Linked DNA regions of Homo sapiens: region 1 is linked to region 2. Evidence: promoter capture Hi-C in human tissues and cell types (Jung and others, 2019). All regions are on one chromosome and are shown on one strand. Each heading gives the region's core, a stretch centred on a gene start or on the middle of the fragment in contact. The rest is flanking DNA. Distances are from core to core; before and after follow the strand shown.

The links. The method cuts DNA at HindIII sites, captures the fragments that hold promoters and counts their contacts. A contact is called where the count stands out against the background at its distance.
Region 1: a fragment that was not itself captured here is called in contact with the fragment with the promoter of ARHGAP11A in region 2 in 4 of the 25 tissues and cell types used here (IMR-90 fibroblasts, dorsolateral prefrontal cortex, lymphoblastoid cells and 1 more).

The regions. Positions count from the first base shown.
Region 1 is chr15:32,860,192-32,867,232 of GRCh38, reverse strand. All of the region lies in intron 16 of FMN1 (formin 1), which reads left to right. Among named protein-coding and RNA genes, the nearest start is that of GREM1-AS1, 140 kb to the right of the region's middle. The HindIII fragment of the contact is 5,122 bases long and covers 571-5,692 here.
Region 2 is chr15:32,611,086-32,617,703 of GRCh38, reverse strand. ARHGAP11A (Rho GTPase activating protein 11A) reads right to left here and starts at 2,200. Exons shown (of 12, transcript NM_014783.6): 1 at 1,364-2,200. The coding sequence starts at 1,492. It overlaps ARHGAP11A-SCG5 (ARHGAP11A-SCG5 readthrough), which reads right to left and starts at 2,228. Exons shown (of 14, transcript NM_001368319.1): 1 at 1,364-2,228. The coding sequence starts at 1,492. It overlaps ARHGAP11A-DT (ARHGAP11A divergent transcript), which reads left to right and starts at 2,958. Exons shown (of 3, transcript NR_135833.1): 1 at 2,958-3,267. The HindIII fragment of the contact is 9,261 bases long and covers 1-4,400 here.

The sequences.
Region 1 (7,041 bases), core at 1,882-4,381, 250 kb before region 2:
ACTGGCATAATGAGATTTTATAAAGGTCACTTTGACTCAGGTATGGAGAACAAATCAGAGAGAGGCAGGGTGGATATGGGAAGAACAGTTAGGCTGAGACTATAGCAGCCTGGTGAAGAGTAATGAATTCAGGAGTTCCGTAGGAGGTGAAACTGTGGGCTAGCTGTGTAAACTTGGGAGACACATCCCAGATATGGTTACTGAAATGTTTACCTGGATGACATTGTCTAGACAGAGAGCATAGCATGGGAGGAGGAGCAGCCTTATGCCAAACCCTAGAGAACTTTAACGTTTAATGACTCTGTATAGGAAGATGAGGCTGCATAGGAAACAGGGCAGGCAGAAGTAGGAGGAAAGCCCACAATGGGGAACACAGACGCTAAGGGACAAAGTGTTTTACAAAGGAGAAGTAGTCAAGATGCAGAATCCTGCTGGGTTGTCAGCGAAGGAGATACAAAATGAGGACACTGCCCACAGGATGGGTTAATTAGTGACTTCAGAGTGCTTTCTCAGTGTCACAATGGGGAGGAAGTAAATTTCAGTGGGTCATGAAACAAGAAATAGGAAAAAGTGAGTATTGCAAATTTTAAAAGACAGTTGGACTGGGAAAATGATTAGACTGTAACATGATTTGTTTATTAAACACACAAACATTAGGAATGTCAGTTATTCAAAGAGTTTGTGAGGTTGCTGTTATTGTTTAGCTCTTCTTGGAAACAAAGAATAAAGCCGCGTACAGTATGTTATCTAGCCAGCCTTTCTACTGTTTGATTATTTAAAATAGCTGAAGAATATTTTGGCTAGCGTTTTACTATTCAGCATACAAAATGCTTTTTTTTCACATGTTTATTTAGTCCTCACAAGATTTTATGTATCAAGAAACTAAGAGTCAGATATTAAATAACTTTTCCAGCCAAATAGAGTGTATGAAAAACTAAGAATAAATGCATCTTTAAATCAAGAGTAGTTCAAAGGGGAAATTTTTTTTCTTTTTTCTTTTTTTTTATTATACTTTAAGTTCTAGGGTACATGTGCACAACGTGCAGGTTTGTTACATATGTATAGATTTGTCATGTTGGTGTGCTGTACCCATTAACTCGTCATTTACATTAGGTATATCTCCTAATGCTATCCCTCCCCACTCCCGCCACCCCACAACAGGCCCCGTTGTGTGATGTTCCTCAAAGGGGAAATTTTTCTAATGTACCAATTGTTGGTGTATATGTGTAAATATATATACATAGCTGTATGCCACAATTAAGAATGTGCGAAAGCTATTGTTTTAATTTTCCAAAAGTTAGCACTTTTAATTTAAATGCTTTACTTGTATTTCTATTATTGAGTTCAGTTATTTTTAGTAGGTATTTTATTTTATTTTATTTTTTTTTTTTTTTTTGAGGTGGAGTTTCACTCTTGTTGCCCAGGCTGGAGTGCAATGGCATGATCTCAGCTTACCACAACTTCCGCCTCCCAGGTTCAGGTGATTCTCCTGCCTCAGCCTCCTGAGTAGCTGGGATTACAGGCATGCGCCACCACGCCTGGCTAATTTTGTATTTTTAGTAGAGACAGGGTTTCTCCATGTTGATTAGGCTGGTCTCGAACTCCCAACCTCAGGTGATCTGCCCGCCTTGTCCTCCCAAAGTGCTGGGATCACAGGCGTGAGCCACCTTGCCCGGCCAGGTCTTTTATTTTAATAACGTTTGTTGCTACTTTTTGAAGATTGACTAATATGTTTAATTTCTCAATTACATGTGCATCTCAAACTCATTTCCCACTTTTGATTCCTAGTTTAGTAATATTGTAAGTATTATAATGAAGACATAGTTGCACCTAAGATTTTTAAAATTATTTACCTTATATAAAGAAGTACAGATGAGGCATTCTTCATTTATCTGTTCATTATAGTTCCAGTTTAAGGCTGACTTTCTAATTAGCTTTAGGCAGCTTTATTAAGATGAAATCACATTCCACATAATTCACCCATTTAAAGTGTACAATCTGATGACTTTTGGTGTATTCACAAAGTTGTACAACCATTGCCACAATCAATTTTTTGAAATTTTTATTACTCCAAAAGGAAAACTTTTCTCCCTTACCCCCTTAGCTGTCACCTCTCTCTCTCTCCCTCTTTCTCTCCTAGTCCTCAGCCACTACTAATCCGCTTTGTCTCTATAGATTTGCCTACTGGGACATTTCATGTGAGTAGAATCATAGGATATGTGGTCTCTTGTGATTGGCTTTTCTTACTTAGCATAATGTTTTCAACGTTCTTCTATGTAGTAGTATGTACTTGTACTTCATTTGTTTTAATGGCCAAATATTTCATTCTGTGTATAAAGTATATTTTATTTATCCATTTATCAGACGATGGATGGGCATTTGGATTGTTTCTACTTCTTGGAGTATACTAAAGCTCTATTCACTAAGTACAATGTTCTAATTAGCTTTTGAGGCATAGACACTATGTATGTGTAGATATAAAAAGGCACTTGTTTGTCTATAAAAAGGCACTTGTTTGTCTAAGTCCATGTATGTAGCTACATTATTCTGAGATAATATTTTGACCTGGGTTCCATGTGTCTAAAGCCTGTGTTTTAACTTGAATGGACAACTGGGAATTCGGAGTTTTTTGACCACTTTAAATATAGTGTCTTGCCTTTGGATGAATAGAGTCATTAGGAGGAAAAATTTGCATATGATGTCAGGTGAATCCCCAAACCAAGGTTAAAGAAGGAAAACACCTTTGGTTACATATAGATTTTCCACATATGGGTCATTAATGCACAGTTGTCTGATTTGAGCTGAGAAATGTGGGCTTTGAAGGGCTATTTAGTAGAAAATGGGTGTAGCAGTCCCTTTCAAAATCTAACTTATGTCGGTGTCTCCTTGAATAGATTTCCCCTTTGCCCTCTCCTAGTTATCCTCACCCTGTGATTTCCAGTAATACCACTCCCTACTCTTAACCCTGCCAAGATTTAAAATACTCCTGCTGTGTAGCATCAGACCTCAAGAACATGAAATAGGTACTTTTTATTGCAGGCTTCTGTCATTTGTTTTTGGCTTAAATCAACTTGAAACCTCCCTTTGTGTGGCCTTTTCTATATGGCCTTATAAAAAAGTGTGTACAGTAGATAGCCACAAAATAGTACCTTCTCATTTGTGCCAAGCTTTAATAAGCAAATGAAAAAATATCTAATATTTTATTAATTGTAAGTATGATTTTCCCCTTTCATAGAAGTCCATGCATTGCTGCTAGCCAAAATAAAATATTACTGTTCTAACTTTAGTATTTTATTACATTGCATTTCATGTAATTCCTTAGTCAGTTTAAGGCCAATGCCATAAGAAGAAAATTGTGCAAGTTAAGCTAATATTGAGATTCTGAGTTCTGAATTTGTTTTTACATTTGTTTTGATAAAAGTGTGTTTGGGGGCAGGAAGCTAAAAGGACATTCACTTTTTCTAACCACGTCCTCCCACCCCACCACCAGGAAGTGCACTAGACGGTCCTGTTCTTACTAAAGGGATTAAAGTAGAAAAGATGAACATGGAAGGAAATAACTCGTAGGTTTGCCTGCAGTTCAAGTTACTAGAAACAATAATTACTGCGTGCCATACCCATTAAGAAATCTTAGTTGGTGACCCATTCACTATAATGTCTGAGGGCAGAGAATTTAGTCTGTTTCTTTTGCTGATGGAACCCCAATATCTGACACAATTTATGGCACGTAGTAGGTGCTCAGTAGACATGTGTTGAATTGATGTGTTTATTTATTTTATTTTATTTATTTATTTATTTTGAGATGGAGTCTCGCTCTGTCGCCCAGGCTGGAGTGCAGTGGCACAATCTCGGCTCACTGCAAGCTCCGCCTCCCGGGTTCACGCCATTCTCCTGCCTCAGCCTCCCGAGTTGGGACTACAGGTGCCCGCCACCACGCCCAGCTAATTTTTTGTATTTTTAGTAGAGATGGGGTTTCACCGTGTTAGGCAGGATGGTCTCCTGACCTCGTGATCCGCCCGCCTCGGCCTCCCAAAGTGCTGGGATTACAGGCGTGAGCCACCGCGCCTAGCCGAACTGATGTATTTATTGAATGGATTCCTGTATGATAAACTCCTTAACCAAGCATTCTAGGCTTTTGATCTCTGGCTTCACTTTATGTCTCTCATCTAAGCCCCATTGATATAATACAAGAATTTGCTTTAGTAAAAAAATTCCATATGTTGCTGCAGCCATTTTCTATGGCGGTCCTTTGAGCAGGGAGCTTGTGAACAGGACATGGATCTTGTAAAAGTGAGGAAGAGGCAGAACTGGCGCAGGACTGTGGAAGGGTGGGGTAAGACTTAGGTAACCAGACAGGGAAGAAGAGAGAACTCTGGAAAAGCAGATAGCCTGATAAACCTTTCCTTTCCTCTAAAACTGTATTCTGACTTAACTAAGCCCACAGGTCCTTCAGCTCATACAAAAAGAAACAAGTTTCATATCTTCATACCAATTGCCCACATACATTTGATTTACAAAGCAATTAAACGTATTTGATTTTGATGAATTATATCTGGGTCTTACTGCTACATTTTTCTAACCTGCCTAGGCTTTTTAAGTGGCTTAATAAGCTTTATTCCCTTGTTCTTAGGGGTGAAAAACAAAAAACAGATAATTCTGACCTTAACAGCCTAATATCTGAAATATTAAAATAGTCTAGGCCATATCTTTCCTTTCACTAAAATACTCCACCAGTGTTTAACCTGTAAGTGAAAATATTCTCCATGTAGTCTCAGTTATTTCACTATGTATTGGTTTTTAATATTTCATCTCTGTCTCACAGTGATCACTTAGTAGTAACTAACTTCGGAAATTAATATATTTTTAATTGCCAAAAAATTGTGTAAAGAGAAAAATAACAGAAAGAGAACCTGGGGTGACTTTGGCTTTTAACTGGAGCTCCTGGCACAGCCCACGCCTGAGGCAACCTTGGTGGTCTAGCAATATCGTATGCGAGTCTTCCGGTTGAACAGTGAAGGACATTTGTGGATCTGTCCATGACCTCTCTCCTTTATGCACTGCCAGTCTCCGGTGTCATCATTAATTAGCCTTCAGGTCTCCCATTTGTCTGCTAGAAAGCATCTCGGATAAGCCAAGTCAATAAATTGGAGCAGGCAAGCTGCCTGGCCTCCGGGGCGCGTGGCTCTGTGGGGACCGTCGGAGGGCAGCCCTCTCCTTTGATCATGTGGGGAAGTTTAATTCTTACAGGCCACGTGGGAATCCCAGCCCGTGGGGCTGCAGAGAGGGCCTTGGAGCACAGCAGTGGAGCTGCTCTCGTTTGTACTGGTTTCAGTTTCTAATTTCAAAACCGCGAAGCTCAGAGGCCTAGGGGAATTGTTTCCCATTTTGCTTCGTCTTTCCCCAAGACTTCGCCTGCATTCTTCAGTGAATTCTCACAATGGGTGGTGGAACTTCAGCACGGGAATGAAAATCATTATCCCTATGTTCTAAACAGGAGATTTGCACCGTGGCATATTTCCGTAAATACAGTGCCCAGCATCTGTAGCAAATAATCCCCAGCCATGACTCTCTTGCTGTTCTGACCTTGACATGTTTCCCAACCAATTTTAGTCAAACATAAAAATAACAAATAATATTTATGAGCCTGCTTGTGAGTGCCAGGCATTCTGCAAATCACTATGTATGTATTATCTTAAATATCATATCATGCCTGTGTTGCGGGAGGTCCCCATTTTGCAGATGAGAAAAACAAGCCACAGCCCACCTGAGTCCTAGTGGGTCTCAATCCAAGCACAAGCTCTTTACCACCCCCATGATATGGCCTCATAAAATTGGAGCAATTTGATGGGCACCGCATGGGCTCTGTCACCACATCTAGCACAAAGGGAGAGCTGCAGCGATCAACCCTGTGAATTCAGGCAAAAGAGAAAGTATTGCTTTTGTAATTGGGGAAACAAGCTCTGCCTTCAGCTTTGCTTTCACCAGGGAGAAGTAACCTTGAAGGAGTTATTGTCAGGCGTTCGATTATATCCTATTAGTAAATTGCAGGCATGTTTTATACTACGTTCATGAAAAACAATTCTATATAAATGAAATTGTTGGAATTTGAATATAGTAGAGGGTTAATTAAATAATTTAAGGAACTCCTCCCAATTTATATTGTGGGAAATCCTAGCTTTTCTTTAACTGTATTCTCAGAATCATAGCTGGAAATAATCAGGAAAGTTTATGTGGCCACAAATGTTCATTGAGAAATGCTGATTCCTTAAAACAGATGTCTTTCCTGCTTCCCTGCCTACCTTGAGAACTACCCAATCAGGATAATCATCTTTGTTACCTTTGTTACCTTGCTTATGACTCATGGGATGAGGTGGTGGACATTTCTGGGGGTCTTTAAAATACACTCAAACCTTAGATCATCTTGGGACACCTCACCATGTTTGAGGAGTACAGAGACACAGAGACGGTGACCCCTTGGTGCAGGGGAAGGGCAAGCAAGTCACATTGCATCTCTGGAAAGCCCACTTGGAGTCTGGGTCAACATTGCTAATATGTATGTATATATATTTTTTAGACAGGAGACAGGGTCTCACCCTGTGAGACTAGGCTGGAGTGCAGAGGTGTGGTCATGGCTTATTGCAGTGTCGACCTCCCTGGGTTCAGGTGATCCTCTCACCTCTGCCTTCTGAATACCTGGGACCACAGGTGCACACCCCCATGCCCAGCCAGTATTTGTATTTTTTGTAGAAACAGGGTTTCACCACTTTGGCCAAGCTTGTCTCAAATTCCTGGGCTCAAGTGATCCACCTGCCTTGGCCTCCCAAAGTGCTGGTATTAGAGGCACGAGCCACTGTGCCAAGCCAACATTGCTAATTTTATTTAAACTTTCCTACACGTGAGAATCTAGTTAAGATGAAGAAACCTTTTTTCTTCATCTACTTTTCCCTTTCTTCCTTTCTTTCTTTCCTTTCCCCTTCCTTCCTTCTTTCCTTCCTCCCTCCCTTCCTACCTCTTCCTCTCTCCTTTCTTTCCTTCCTTCCT
Region 2 (6,618 bases), core at 951-3,450:
GCAGGAGATCGAGACCATCCTGGCTAACACGGTGAAATCCCGTCTCTACTAAAAAATACAAAAAATTAGCCAGGTGTGGTGGCGGGCGCCTGTAGTCCCAGCTACTCGGGAAGCTGAGGCAGGAGAATGGCGTGAACCCGGGAGGCAGAGCTTGCAGTGAGCCAAGATCGCGCCACTGCACTCCAGCCTGGGCGACAGAGGGAGACTCCATCTCAAAAAAAAAAAAAAAAAAGGAAAAGAAAAGAAAAGGGGTGAAAAAAAGTCCATATACAAACTCTTCCATATACTTACAAAATCAGCTACATTTGAGATCTTGGAAAGCCAGTTTTACAATCAGAAAAAAATCACTGTAGCTTTTTAAATGTAAGTACATGTATTGCCATTAATTTGCTACCAACAAAAATAACTTCTCCAAAGTTTATCAGCGATTAAGAGGCACACATATTACTTTTGTTAGTGGTTTTCTTCTCCAAGCACTTTTTTTAAGAAACCATAAACTATTAAAAGCAACGTATATTAATTTTATTAGCTTGTCTCCAAGTACTAGGAAGTACCATATAAATTAGGCACATAAATTTAAAATAAAATGCTTTACATTCAGCTTATTTTTCACAATGGAATTCCTGATTATGTGGCAGAGCTATTAAAATCTCATTCAAAATCCCTTTATTTCAACCACCAAAACATCAACAACTTCTCAATTATTCCACTCTGGCTTCTCAATTTACTCATACAAAAAAAAATTTACTGTCCCAAAAGTATGACATGGCCAAGCAGCAAATCTGTTTCCCAAATTAGTGAATATGCAGTCATCATTTGAAGCCTATTTCTAATGTTCTGTCATACTTCTTCATCTACAGATTCATGTAGAAAATGCACTGGTCTCCCTTGTCCCTCTACAACCTTACTCTAAAACAAGGGTGGAGGGGTAGAGTTTTTGTCCCTCCCAACGTACTACCTGTTCCAAATACAGTAAGCTGGCAATATCCGGAGACATTTTTAATTGTCACAACTGAGAGATGCTACCAGCATCTAGTGGGTAAAAGACAGACATCCCGCTAAACATCCCACAATTCACAGAACAGCATTTCGTCTTCCCCTAACAAAAATTATCTAATCCAAAATGTCAATAGTGCTGAAGTTGGAAAATCCTGCAACTTTCTCTCAATGATCAAAAATCCTTGGGGGAAAAAAAACAAGAATGTCACTTTTTAAATATCAGCAATCGACCATCTGAACTGAATTACACACCTAACCATTCTTTTTGATACACAGAGTGAACATTTTAGCACGATCTGGTAGTAAGTGATGATAAAGGGTGTGCCCTTTCTTTTAAACCTAAATCCCTTTTCACAGAACTTACCCCTATTTCCGTGGCTGCTGTTTCATGTCTCCTGCGATCGCACTGCCCACGGACACCCTTCACCTTAATACCATAGAAGGCCCGCAGATGCTGCAACAGGGCCAACCTCACCAGCCTCTGATCCCACATTCCGGATACGTCGATAACTCTCTGAGGCAGGATGCAGGTCCTGACCCTCGTTCGCCACCAAGTCTTCCAATTTCCAAACGCTCTCAAATTTGAACTCCGCTCGGCTGCTTTCCGGCCCCGTCTGGCACTTCTGCGGCCCCGACCCCCGGCCACTTCCACGGCTTTTCCTTGATCCTCACTCACATCCACTTACACAGACCCGCTTCTCTTAGCCCTTTGATCCAGCCACACCTCACTCTTCCTTCACTTACACCGACCTTCTTTCTGGTCACCCAATGCTTTCAGCTACTCACATAGACTTCTTTCTGATTCTTTCGGTTTCTCGTCTATTGCCAGATTCTCTCCACTTCTTGCTACTTCCAACGATCCCCCTTCCTCCAAACCTTACTGTCCCCGTCTGGTTCGCTCTGAAATGTGAAGAAAACCCTTCTCGCTCCTCCAGCCCCAGCAGGCTCAACTGGGCGCTCGCCCCCGCCCTAGCCTGGCCGCCGGACCAGCCGGCTGCTCAGGCAACTCTTCCAGTCCCGGTGCCCGCCCGGGCTGGTAGCCGCCGTCACCCCGTCTCACAGGCTGCTCGTTCCCTCCCCCATCAGCCTGCCTCTACCTCCCGGCCTGCACATCCCGGTGCGTTCACTGAAGCCAAGCCGTTAGCCTCATGCTTCCGCCCCCAGCTCCTCCGCAGACACCCAGAGCCACCACGGGGGGGTCACACCCGCAGTTTCAGCCCAGGCTCAAATGGCAGCGCGAAACAGCGCTCCACATCTGATTGGTCCACTCCTCTTTTCAAAATCAGGACCCCGGAGGGTGGCCGAGAGCTGCCTGTCTAGATAAGTGCGGGCGAAGGGGTGTAACGGGCAAACCCAGCAAACATGAAAAGCAGGATGAGTTTCACTTGTTCCTTCAAGGCCAGTTTTTGGGGCGGGGGAATACTGTTTAAAGGTTTTTAAATACACCTGACCTGCGCCTCAGACCATTCACAGTATTTGAGGAAATATAAAAGACAACTTATTCCCGTTCTTTTCCGAGCTTGGCTGTCGCTGAAGGCCCTCTTATGAAGAAACCGTTCTTACGGAAGCCCAGATGAGACAACTTGAGACAGGATTCAGAAACGCTGATTTTAGTAACCTTAACCCTCGGCCCTTGGTGGGAACTTCGGCTCTGTGGGAATTAGTCTTTGGGGGACTGATGGTCATGCTGAAATCTTATTGCGTAGGAAATTAAGTACAACAAAGAAGACCCGTCGTGAGAGGAGAGTGCGGAAGAAATGCGAAGTCTACGGGAGGTGGCAGCTGCAGAAGCTTGGTGTTGGATTTGGCGTTAGGAGACCGGGAGGAGCCCAGCTTCCGGTCCAGACGGTTATCTTGTTGACTTGCACGACTGCAAACGCCCTGAGCTGCTTTTGCAGTCTGAAACATCAGCGATCCCATCAAAATATTCTGTTTCTTGGGATATAAGAAACATCCCAAGGCGGGCTGTAGAGCGAGAGATTTGGACTCGATTTAAATACAGACAAAATAGTATGCATTTACTAACACCACATCTCACCCCCACGAAACTTGGTAAGGGCAGCAACAGAACTTTATCTGCCATATGCACTCCTGTATTCCTATTACCAAATAGTGCCAGGGACTAAGTGAATATTTGTCCAATGAATGAGTTTTAAGTAGGAAACGTTTGCATAGAATCATTTTGTTTCTTTTGGAGTTCAAATCTTCGGATATTTTACCCTTCCCAATCCAAAGAAAAGTCTCTGAGTGAAGAGATGGGAACAAAATGTAAGTTAAATATGTTGCTTTAACAACTGTTTATTGAACTCGTGCTATAGACTATAGAATGATGAGCAAAACCAGGCACAGTTTCGGCCCTGGAAGAGGAAAGGCAGGCATATATTTATCAAGTAAGTACATTAATGGCGGCACTTATCAGTTGAGAGAAGTGCGCTAAGGAAAGGAATATGATTCTATGATAGCGTATAATAAAAGATCCTTGACCGGGGAGGGGAAACGTACCAGTGATTAACTGATCTGAAGAATCAGTATAAATTGACTTTGTAGAAAGTATAGGTGGATGGCTGAGTGGGACCATCATTCAGGAAGCAAATGCCTGCAGAAAAAAACATCAATTTTAACAAGAAACGGTGTATCAGAGATGAAACTGAACCTATTCCTTGTCTTTTCTTCTTGCTTCAGACATAACTTTAAAAAATTGCTTACGCTGTCTTTAGCCACATCTCTTCCCCAAACTCCACACTGTTCGGCGTTTTAGCCGTCTCAAATTTCCTTTTCTTAAAGACCCATGACAATCTTCAGTGTTGTGTCTTTTTCTACGTCGTGATCCTTTTTTAAAGCTGAGCTCTTCTTGTTTTTCGTCTCCTTTCTCTTTTTTTTTTTTTTTTTTTGTGATGGAGTCTCGCTCTGTCGCCCAGGCTGGAGTGCAGTTGCACAATTTCGGCTCACTGCAAACTCCACCTCCCACGTTCAAGCAATTCTCTGCCTCAGCCTCCCAAGCAGCTGGGATTACAGGCGTCTGCCAGCAGGCCCGGCTAATTTTTGTATGTTTAGTAGAGACGGTGTTTCACCATTTTGGCCAGGCTGGTCCTGAACTCCTGACCTCGTGATCCACCCGCCTCGGCCTCCCAAAGTGCTGGGATTACAGGTGTGAGCCACCACATCCGGCCCTTCCTTTCTCTTAAGATGAAAATATTGGTTCTTTTTTCCTACACACAAGGAGGCAATGAAAATATTGGTTCTTTTCATTGCCTTATTATTAATGTTACTATTAATAAATATTAATATTAACATAATGGTTATTTGCTTCATCTACCTATATTCACAGGTATATAAACACAACAATAGCAATAACAGGATAAAGAATAAAAACAGAATAACAATAGAGATATTGCTAACAGATAAATGAAGTTTAACTTTGCATGTACTTCCTTTTTTCTAAAATTGTATCCAACTAAGGATGTAAAATCAAGATACTGTGTTTTAAATGAACTGGGCATAATTATTCTTTTTGGTTATATATGGATGTACTGTAGTTTATTTAGCCAGGCCCTTACTAGTGGATATGTTGGCTATTCCCAGTCTTTTGCTATACAAAAGTTTCCTTGTGCATATATAATATGCTTTTGCCAGTGGGTCTTTAGCATAGATTTCTATAAATGGGATTGTTAGGTCAAAGGGTAAAAGAACATGTTATTTTGTTTAATTCTGCCAAATTCCCCTTCATAGGGGTTGTGCAGTTTTGTATTCACACCAGCAGCATTTCCTGTTTCTCTGCAGCCTCTCCAATAGAATGAATTGTCAAACTCCTAGATGTTTGCTAAATCGATATGTGGGAAATGTTATCAAAGTGTAGTTTTTTTTTTTTTTTTTTTGAGACGGAGTCTCACTCTGTTGCCCAGGCTGGAGTTCAGTGGCTCTATCTTGGCTCACTGCAACTTCTGCCTCCCAGGTTCAAGCGATTCTCCTGCCTCAACCTCCTGAGTAGCTGGGACCACAGGCAATCACCACCACGCCTGGCTAATTTTTGTAATTTTAGTAGAGACAGGGTTTCGCCATGTTGGCCAGGCTGGTCTCGAACTTCTGACCTCAACCTATCCACTCACCTCGGCCTCGCAAAGTGCTGAGTTTACAGGCATGAGCGACTGCGCCCAGCCTCCAGTATAGTTTTGTATTTATCTTTTTGTCAATGAAGTGGAACATTTTTTCAAATGATGCATGCTTACGACAAAGTATTATGAAGCTGTTAAGGAATGTGGAAGATATATGACTATGATGTGAAGTGAAGTGAAAAAGCAAGGCATAAAAGAGTGTATATAGTATGCTGCCTTTGGTATACGGGGTGGTAGAGATACATATACAAATGGATACTTACTTATATTTTCAAAAATAAACAATAGAAAGGTAAACCAAAATCTAATAAAAATGGTAAACAATAGGAGAAGATCAAGAACAGGTGAAGTAGAAAATAGGAATGGAAGCTAGACCTCTCTGAATATATCTTGTTTTATATATAAACTTGGAACCCTGTAAATGTGTAACATGTTTAAAATACAAAATAAGGTGGTGGCTCACGCCTGTAATCCCAGCACATTGGGAGGCCGAGGTGAACGGATCACCTGAGGTCAGGAGTTCGAGACCAGCCTGGCCAACGTGGTGAAACCCCGTCTCTACTAAAAATACAAAGATTAGCCATGCGTGGTGATGCATGCCTGTAATCCCAGCTTCTCGGGAGGCTGAGACAGGAGAATCGCTTGAACCTGGGAGGCGGAGGTTGCAGTGAGCCAAGATCCGGCCACTGCACTTCAGCCTGGGTGACACAGTGAGACTCCATCTAAACAAAATAATAATAAATAAAATAAAATAAAATAAAATGTAAAAGCAACTCCTAAAATGGAAAACAAAGTGCAATAAATCAATCTTTTCACCTGTTTAAGGGCTATTTGTACTTCTTTTTATTTAAATTGTCCATCTTTTACTTTCAGGATGGTCTTTAAAAATATTTTAGAAGCTTTTTATATATTAGTCCCTCATGATATAAGCTACATATATTTTTTAGACTTTTTGCCTTGCTTTTTTGTTTGTTTAAATTATAGTTAATCTCTTCCCTTAATGCTTCTGGATTCTGATCATAGATAGGAGTATTTTCCCCACTTCTGAGTTATAAAGGTATTCACTCTTGTGAATTCTAGTACTTAATTTTCTAGTACTGCTATGTTTTCATTTGTTAATGTTAGATCTCTGAGGCTGGAGTGCAGTGATGCGACCTCTGCTCACTGCAACCTTCACCTCCCGGGTTCAGATGATTCTCCTGTCTCAGCCTCCTGAGTAGCTGAGACTACAGGTGCATGCCACCACACCTGGCTAATTTTTGTGTTTTTAGTAGAGACGAGGTTTCGCCATATTGGCCAGGCTGGTCTTGAACTCCTGACCTTAGGTGATCTGTCTGCCTCTGCCTCCCAAAGTGCTGGAATTACAGGCGTGAGGCACCGCGCCCGGTCCTTAAATTTGGAATTTATCCAGTGTAGAAAGAATGGATCCAATTTTATGTGTTACCCCACACAGCTATCCAGCTGTAGATATTGTAATTTTATTTCATTTAGTGAACTCCCACACCTA